Regions from separate parts of the Homo sapiens genome. Here region 1 is linked to region 2. Evidence: promoter capture Hi-C in 16 types of primary human blood cells and fetal thymus (Javierre and others, 2016). All regions are on one chromosome and are shown on one strand. The core of a region is centred on a gene start or on the middle of the fragment in contact, and the rest is flanking DNA. Distances in the headings are between cores, read along the strand shown. Region 1 holds the start of NAPEPLD (N-acyl phosphatidylethanolamine phospholipase D). Region 2 holds the start of SMURF1 (SMAD specific E3 ubiquitin protein ligase 1).

What was found. The method cuts DNA at HindIII sites, captures the fragments that hold promoters and counts their contacts. A CHiCAGO score of 5 or more calls a contact.
Region 1: a contact is called between the fragment with the promoter of NAPEPLD here and the fragment with the promoter of SMURF1 in region 2, in 1 of 17 cell types (fetal thymus). The highest score is 5.5, in fetal thymus.

What each region holds. Positions count from the first base shown.
Region 1 is chr7:103,147,362-103,151,897 of GRCh38, reverse strand. NAPEPLD (N-acyl phosphatidylethanolamine phospholipase D) reads left to right here and starts at 2,799. Exons shown (of 5, transcript NM_001122838.3): 1 at 2,799-3,087. LOC105375434 reads right to left here. Exons shown (of 3, transcript XM_047421168.1): 2 at 1,334-2,880. The coding sequence ends at 2,078. It also overlaps the pseudogene RPL23AP95. The HindIII fragment of the contact is 3,849 bases long and covers 1,653-4,536 here.
Region 2 is chr7:99,141,757-99,146,062 of GRCh38, reverse strand. It overlaps SMURF1 (SMAD specific E3 ubiquitin protein ligase 1), which reads left to right and starts at 1,955. Exons shown (of 18, transcript NM_181349.3): 1 at 1,955-2,337. The coding sequence starts at 2,283. It also overlaps a transcript of KPNA7 not described here. RefSeq lists silencers at 1,694-2,193, 2,334-2,663, 2,724-2,773. The HindIII fragment of the contact is 8,132 bases long and covers 1-4,306 here.

The sequences.
Region 1 (4,536 bases), core at 1,550-4,049, 4.0 Mb before region 2:
ATAGGGCCTGGGCAAGACTCCTGTTCTACTTATCCTTTTGGAACACTCACTCTGCCACTCCACCATACTTGATCACTCCAGAGATCTTTATGACCAGAGCTAGTTGTCCTAAGAAAACCAGAACTTGTCTCCATGGTAGAGGTAAGAAAACAAGAAGCTGCCGGGTGGCGGTGGCTCAAGCCTATCACTTTGGGAGGCCCAGGCGGGCAAATCACTTGAGGCCAGGAGTTCGAGATCAGCCTGGCCAACATGGTGAAACCCCATGTCCACTAAAAAGACAAAAATTAGCCGGGCATGGTGGTGGGCACCTGTAGTCCCAGCTACTCAGGAGGCTGAGGCAGGAGAATCTGGGAGGCAGAGGTTGCAGCGAGCCAAGATCTGGCCACTGCACTTCAGCCTGGGTGACAGAACGAGACTCCGTCTCAAAAAAAAAAGAAAAAAGAAGAGGCTTTACAAGAACCCCTTCTTTTATCCCTGGAAGAGGCTGTGTGTGAAACCAATGCCCACAGTTTGAAGGGCATTAGCATTCATCTTAGGGGAGTGTGGGTTGGCTGGCTTTCAGGTAGCACTTTGACCTCACACACCCATCTACTATGTCCAACTGGTCTGTCTGCTTCCCTCAGCCTTAACCAATAAAGGACAAGGACTTAAAAAAAAAGAGTGGGAGTGAGGGGAACAAAGGGCATCTTTTTTTTTTTTTTTTTTTTGAGACAGAGTCTTGCTCTGTCTACCAGGCTGGAGTGCAGTGGTGCCATCTTTGCTCACTGCAACCTCCATCTCTGGGGTTCAAGCAGTTCTACTGCCTCAGCCTCCCTAGTAGCTGGGATTACAGGTGAGCTCCACTATGCCTAGCTAGTTTTTGTATTTTTACTTGAGACAGGGTTTCGCCATGTTGGCCAGGCTGGTCTCGAACTCCTGACCTCAGGTGATCCTCCTGCCTTGGCCTCCCAAAGTGCTGGAATTACAGGCGTGAGCCACTGCGCCCAGCTTTTTTTTTTTTTTTGGGGAAATGGGGTCTTCTCTGTTGCCCAGGCTGGAGTGTAGTGGCGTGATCACAGCTCACTGCGGCCTTGATCTCCCAGGCTCAATCGATCCTCCCACCTCAGCCTCTGGAGTAGCTGGGACCACAAGGGCGGGCCATCAAGGCTGGCTACTTTTTTTTTTTTTTAATTATTATTTGTAGAGATGAAGTCTCGCTATGTTGCCCAAGTTGGTCTCCAACTCCTGGGCTCTAAGGATTCTCCTGCCTTGCCCTCCCAAAGTGCCGGGATTACTTCTCCGTTGCTTAGTCAAGAACACTATGAAGAACTTTTGAGTAGTAACTTCAACTTACCCTTTGGGTTTGTATGTATGCTGTTACTTTTTTTTTTTTCTTCTGTTGCACAAAGGTATTATTCACCTTATGCAGTTTCAGCTCCACCCAGGTGCAAGCAGCTCTTAATCACCCTTAAGTTCAGCAGCCACTCTAAGCTAGCCTGAGGAGATAAAGTCCACACTTGACATACAGTTCTTTACATTCCTCCAATGTCACACAGGCACATTCACTTTCAAAATGCAGAATAGTTTGGTCTGCATTTTTCTGCCAGTCTTATCTGCATTTAGAACCTGTGGTGGTGGTTTCTTTTTTGCCAAGATAACCCCAGGGACAAGCTTTTTTTTTTTTTTTTGACCCTGGCACACCCCAGGACTTTTATAATCTTTTTGCCCAACAACCCATTGTTGAATTTTACTTCGACATGCCTGTACTTTACTTCTTGAAACAACTAATTTCATTCTGCAGTTTAAAAAGCAAATCCAGTAAGAAACTCAGAATCACAATCGTATGCTCTTTCATAGTTATCCTAGCGTTAAAAAAGATGCAAATTTAGATGAGAACCGTGTGTACCAGGGGGCTGTGACATCATTTTAAAAGTAAACGATCACACAGTGAACAATGCCGTGCTCCCATTAATATTCAATACGTACTGTACAACATTTCAAATTAGAGTTTAGTTTCTTCGCTACCAGGATCCTAGCGCCATAGGCTGTAAGTATTCAAATGCTTCTCGACTGTGATTGAGTTGGCTATGACAGTCCGTCAATGGGTCTGCAGGATCCCATTTAGTTTTAGCAACTGTGGCTGGTGTCCAGGAATGCGTTCATGCGATCTGAAAGTAAGCCTCTGGCTTAGGACAGCGGGGGGAACCAATTTGATCTTAGGAGGGTCCCTGCAGAGTGTTTGAGTCGCGAGGCGGGCCGGGGCAGGCCGCGTGCTCCCAGGCGCTTCCTTTACCAAGATGGCTTCGGCGCCCCGGCCCACAGGGGCGGCCATCTTGGTAAGGGCTGGAGAGGCAGCCTGAAGGAGGCCACCGCTGGCCCTGCTGTCAGATTCGAAGGTCATAATAAGGGAGTGACCCGGCGACGACTCGCCCCAACGATGGCGAGGCGGCGAGAGCTGAAGCGCTGCCTGCAGCTGCTGGCGTCCTCGGCGGAGCCAGCGCGGCGGGCTCGGGTTAGGAAGAACCCGAGCGCCTGCCGCGGTCGCCCCTCCCGCTACGCGGCGGCGCTTTGCGCGGGGACTCTGTGGCCGGAAGCCGCGGAACTGAGGCGGCGCGCGCTCCCGGCCACCCCAAGCGCGAGGTGAGTCCGCACCCCCGCGCTCGCACCCCGCCGCTCTGGCCGCGCGCCCGCGGCCCGGGATCCCGAGTGTCCGGAGCTCCGTGGTTTCTGTTGGACCTCGCGGGAGGCGGTTTTCTCCCGCCTGCTGTGCTCTGTGACCTCTCTGCTGCCTCCTCCACGGTCTCTGGGCGGAGCAATCCACACTGCTGAGCCTGGGGTGGTTTGGAATTCTTCGGCGAAGTGGAGCGGGCTGAGAGTGGGTTTCCCGTCCCCGAGCCCTCCCTCATCTCGGAGATGCCGCACTTGTGAGCGACAGGGCTTCATTTGAATTTTCGCACCTCGCGAGTTGCGGAGCCTGCATCTCTGAAGCTGCCTCGGTGAAGAGCCACAGCATTATTTTTTTTCTCTTTGGGAGAGTAGCTGTCTGGGATTTGAGATCCTATCTTCCCTGCAAATTACCAGGTTGCATCTTCACTGATAGGAATACATGTGGGTTTATCTTCTTTTGGTTGTATGTAAATGAATGGGTCGACAACTTCCTCCGAGCAACTTATTGTTGCTTCATCTATAGTGTTTATCTTCTAAAAATCCATTCCAACAGGTTTCTCCCCTTTTATTTTGGAATAAGTGTACTTATTTAACTATGGAATGGAAATGAAGAGCAAAAAAAAAAATGGGGCTAGCTGGGGAGGGGTGGTGGAAGGCTGTGCTTTCTTGAGTTTTCTGTTCTGTGGTTGTTTGCTTCTTATAAATTGGGTATTATTGTGGGCTTTTCAGAACACGTATTCAGATAGGTTTTTGTTGTTGTTGTTTTGTTTGTTTGTTTTTTCCTTTTTTTTTTTTTTCAAGCTAGAGCTCGATATGGTAGATACTCTTCCATGGGTTCCGGGATCACATGCATTCATTATACGTCAGTTAAACCTGGAAAATATTAAGGGAGTGAGTAAAGTTTAACAGCCTTTTAAAAAGTCATTTAGTTCTTGTCTTTGCCTTTACTGTACGTTGTTATATATACATGTTATAATATGACTGACTCACCTGGTTGGCTTTGGCTTAGCATGAAATGTTTGCTACTTGATAATTCTGATTAATTTGTCCAGGAAGTCATTCCTGAGATGCAGTTCTTCAAATTGAGAAATAATTCCCATGTTTGTTAAAAAATGGAAATCTCTAACATTTCCATTTCTATTTTCAGTTACATTGGTTATGAATTAGCCGCAGACATGGACATCGTTTAGAAAGAAGTTATGTAATCTTTAAAAAGAAGATTACCTATATCCCACAATAGTGTGATTTTTGTTGCAAGAAAATACTGGGTCTGTTAAAGAAGAAATTTAGGGTAAAAGTACTTATTTAAAATAATAATTTAAGGAGAGATTGAGGGGTTAAATTTGTTTCAAGTCAACTGAAAATATAGTCAGGATTTTCAGAGATTTTGTTTTGTTAACATTCTGCAGGCTTTCCTGCTACAAGAATTATGGTAAGTCTCCAAGAGATAAAAATACTTAGTGTATTTCTCATACCCTTATTTTCACTCAGAATTCCAAATTATATTGTAGAAATTCTATGTTACAAAATTCTAATTTTAAAATTAGTCCAGTTATAACTATATGAAGAACATTTTAGCATAAGCATTCCATCACAGGGTTTTGGTTATACTTTAGTTGATACAGTCATTCTTGTGTTTGTTCGAAAGGGGTATTATGTTACTTTGAGTATTTGTGAGTTTGGTAAACTGAGAGGATTTTTATGAACATTTAGTCTGTGTTTGGAAAAGCAGTATTTGCCTTTAATTTTGTTGTTTCATTCTGCTTTTTCTTTGTGGTGATGGATAGCTGTGGATATAGTGAGTTTTTCCATTGCTTTCTACACTTTGTAAATAAGAATATAGCTATAGCTGGAGGACTGTTGATCTGGGCTTTTTAGGTTGAAATGCAT
Region 2 (4,306 bases), core at 706-3,205:
AGCATTAGAGACTGGATGGATTAATTCAGACCCAGGCATTCACTCTCTGTGACAATCATCTACAAATGGAAACAGCTGGATTGTGGCTCTACTGCTATTGCTTAAACATTGCTTATATTCTTGGGTCTTTCTTGAGGATAACTGAAAGAGCCGCAAGGTGCCATAGAAATGACCTAGGACCATCCTTTTATTTGACAGATGTGATGCCTTGAATCCTGCCCAGGAGAGACTCTGCTTTCACTAGGGTCATCCGAGGCAGGCAGGCAGGCAGGCAGGCGGGCAGGCAGGCAGGTATGTCTAGGCGCTCTAGGTAGAAGGCTCTGTTCCGAAGACTGTGACCTTAGGACAGGCACAAGGCTGCAGGGGATGGTAGCAATGGCCCAGAGCCTACTTTCCTTGGGACACACACACACACACACACACACACAGTATTAAAAGAATTTGTTCAAGTTGATTGATGAAGAATCAAATAAAAATAAAAAAGAACTTGTACATGAAAATGGGTAGTGGGGTCTGGGAGCGGTGGCTTAGGCCTGAAATCCCAGCACTTTGGGAGGCTGAAGCGGGCAGATCACCTGAGCTCAGAAGTTTGAGACCAGCCTGGCCAAAACAGCGAAACCCCATCTCTACCAAAAATACAAAAATTAGCTGGGTGTGGTGGCTAACGCCTGTAATCCCAGCTATACAGGAGGCTGAGACACGAGAATCACTTGAACCTGGGAGGTGGAGGTTGCAGTGAGCCAAGACCGTGCCACTGCACTCCAGCCTGGGTGACAGAGTGAGACCCTGTCTCAAAAAACAACAACAACAACAACAAGGTAGTGGGTAAAAAACAAGTTTGATAAACCTAGTTTTCCCTCTTTCTAATAATACCAGTTTATTTCTATAACATGCTAACAGAGAGGAGTTTGTTTGCTGGAGAAAGCGCATAATGAGCTTTTTCTGTGTGTGTGTGTGTGTGTGTGTGTGTGTGTTTTGAGACAGTGTCTAGCTCTGTCACCCAGGCTGTAGTGCAGTGGCCTGATCATAGCTCACTGCAGCCATGAACTCTGGGGCTCAAGTGATCCTCCCACCTCAGCCTCCCAGTACCTGGGACTACAGGCGCGCACCACCATGCCCAGCTAATTTTTGTATTTTTTGTAGAGATGGAGTCTCCCTATGTTGCCCAGGCTGGCCTCAAAGTCCTGGGCTCAAGTGATCCGCCCGCCTCGGCCTCCCAAAGTGCTGGGATTACAGGCTACAGCCACCGTACCCAGCCATGAGCTTTTGGTTCTAACCTGCAACCCCGGGAGAAGGGGAAATTTAGCAGAAGACATGGGAACACAAACCACAATGCCACTTTCTTGTTTGGTAAAATTGTATGCAGAATGGATAATAACAAACATCCGCCTCTCAACTTTATCCCTCCCTCTCATCTCGTTTTCCTTGTCCGTATATGGCACTTCTGCGATTCTGGCAACTTTGTTATGGGTCAGTGGAGCACACCCGTTGCACAGAACACACCTAAGGGCTTTGTCTCTTTGAGAAGTCCCTCCCTTGAACTTGCACGATCGAAAGCTCTTAACTGAAAAAAACTGGTATTGCACGCCTGTGTGCAAGGAGCTTGGTGTGGACACAGCCCACGGTTTCATGCAAACCACTCTTCAGTCACTCAGGAGCCCAGAGCCTCGCAGAGACAGGGGTCAAGACAGAGGGCGACCGCGCGCTGGGTCCCGGGGCCAGCTCTGCTCTCCCTTCCCGGGCTCGGGGCCAGACCCTCCCACCCACCGACCACAGGAAGGGTGAAGACCCCAACCCGCGGGATCCGGGCCCCGCGCGCCCGAGGCAGGCGTGCGGGCGACGTAGCAGCGCACCCCGCCCCGCCCCAGCGTACGTGGCGGGGGCGCGCACGCACGCAGGCGCGGGGGCGCGCAGGGCCGGGCCGGCACGGCGGCGGGCGCGCGCGCGGCTCGGAGAGGCGGCGGCAGCGGCGGAAGCGGCGAGGGCGGCGGGCGTCCGGCTCTGAGGTGGTGGAGGCGGCGGAGGCGGCGGCGGAGGCGGCGGCGGCTCGGGACTGGGCTCGGCTGGAAGCAGCGAGGGTCAGAGCGCCGCAGCAAGCGCCGATCTCCCGGCTCGACCATCCGCCTGCCGCCCGGACGCCTGGGCCGCGGAGTTTGTGTCCCGGCTCGGACCCCGGCGCCCAGCCCGGAGCCGTAACCTTGAGGCGGCGGCGGCGGGGCCGGGCCGGGCCGGGCTGGGGGGCGGTGGCGCTGGATCCGCGGCTGCCCGATCGTTGGCGGGAGATGTCGAACCCCGGGACACGCAGGAACGGCTCCAGCATCAAGATCCGTCTGACAGGTACGGCCGGCGGGAGGCCCACCCGCGCCCCGGCGCCCCCTCGCCCGCCCCGGAATTCCCCGCAGGGCGCCCTTGGAAGCGGCCCTCCCCCACGCCGGCCGTTGTCCCAGGACCTCGTCACCCCCTTCGGCGTGCGCCCCTCGCTTCTCCCTCCTGGCCCCGCCCCCTCGCCGTTGCCCGGCCCCGCCCCCTGGCCGCTCGCGCCCCCTCGGTCTCGCGTTCCCTCCCGTTCCCCCGCACCTGCCCCCTCGCATCTCCGTCCTGGCCCCGCCCCTCTCATTTCCATTCATGGCCACGCCCCTTGCATCTCCTTCCCTGGCCCCGCCCCTCGCTTCTCTTTTCCTGGCCCCGCCCCTTGCATCTCCTTCCAGGCCCTTTCCCCTCACCTCTCCCCGGCTCGGCCCCTTGCCTCTCGCTTCCCTTCCTCTCCCTAGCACCTGACCCCTCGCTTCTCCCCCCAGGCCCCGCCCCCTTGCCTTTCACCTCCATCCCTGTGGTCCTTTCTCTTCCCCACCTTTCCTCCCCAAACCTGACCCCGCCCATCTCTCTGGCCCCACCCCCTCGCTCCTCTCTGCTCCCGCCTCCTAACTTTCTGTCCCCGCCCCCTCGCTTCTCCCTGCGTCCAGCTCCCTCGCTTCTCTCTGGTCCCGCCTCCTCACTTCTTTCCTAGCCTGGGCCCTCACTTCTTCCTGGTCCCGCCTCCTCACTTCTTTCCTAGCATCGGCCCTCACTTCTTCCTGGTCCCGCCCCCTTGCTTCTCTCCTTTTTTTCTCCTCCGCCGTTTTTACCCCCTCCCTCCTTCTCCTCGCTTCCCATCCTCTCCGCCCACCTGCCCCCTCGCTTTTCCCTCCTGGCCTTGCCTCTGTTCCCCTGGTCCCATCCCTCACTTCTCACCACTTTCCCATCATCTCTCTTGCTTTCCTGTTTTCCCTCCCACCTGCTCCCTCCCCTCATCCTCCTGGTCTTTCCCACCACTTCCAAGCTATTTTGCTACCTCCCCTTCCACTTGCCCCCTTGCTTCTCCCCTCCTGCCCCCACCCACCCTCTTCTCACTCCCCCATCCTCTTTCGTTTCTCCCTCACCCCCCCACACCGTCCTCCTCCCTTCTTCCCCTAGCCCCGCCCCTCACTTTCAAGCCCCGCCCTCATTCCTGCCTAGCCCCGCCCCCTCGCTGCTGTCTGGCGAGGCCTCCACCCTTTCTTTCCTTCAGCCTGAAATTCCTCAATCCTATCTTGTAGCTGCTCCCAGTCCTGCTCTCTTCACTTCCCCCTGGTCCAGCCCTCTTCAGTCTCAGTCTGGGCCACTTCCTGTCTCTTAGGCCAGACCGCTAGCTACTTTTAACTCTGCTTCTTCAATTTTTACCTTTTCTGCATTTTGTTTCACCATCACCCCCACACTCAGCAACCCAGAGCGCCGTGAGGCTCTGATCCCTACTCCCACACTCACTGGAGGCTTTGGAAGCTGCCCACACGCAGGCTCCTTGATTCATTTTGTCTTCAATGAAAAGTCCGTGTTTCCTGGGTGGCTCTGTAGTGCCACCTTCAAGGGTGAGCGCAACGCTCTGCCGCGGGCCTGCGACTTGGTGGCGCGGATGTGATGCCAACCTGTTTCCCCCCGGGCTCCAGAGGTTCTGGACCAGGCTGCATCCTCGTCTTCCCTTTCTCACTCTCATTGGTACTACTCTCTTTCCAGTTTCAATTCATCCCTAAAGCAGGATGGCCGTGTTGCAAATGCGGCTCTGCTCCGGGACTTTCCAAACTCGAATATTTCCAGCTCTGGAAGGAAACTAAAAAGTTCATTCTAATCCCCGTCAGGGATTTTCCCCTGGATTTTTCTGTTCAGTGGCTCAGTCGGGTGAGAACTCCAAAGTCCTGGTTTGGTCAGGTCCTTTCAAAGAGAGAATGAGCGTTTTGAACACTTTATGGCAGATGCGCAGCCATAAAGTCATCGGTAAAATCCATGCAAACAA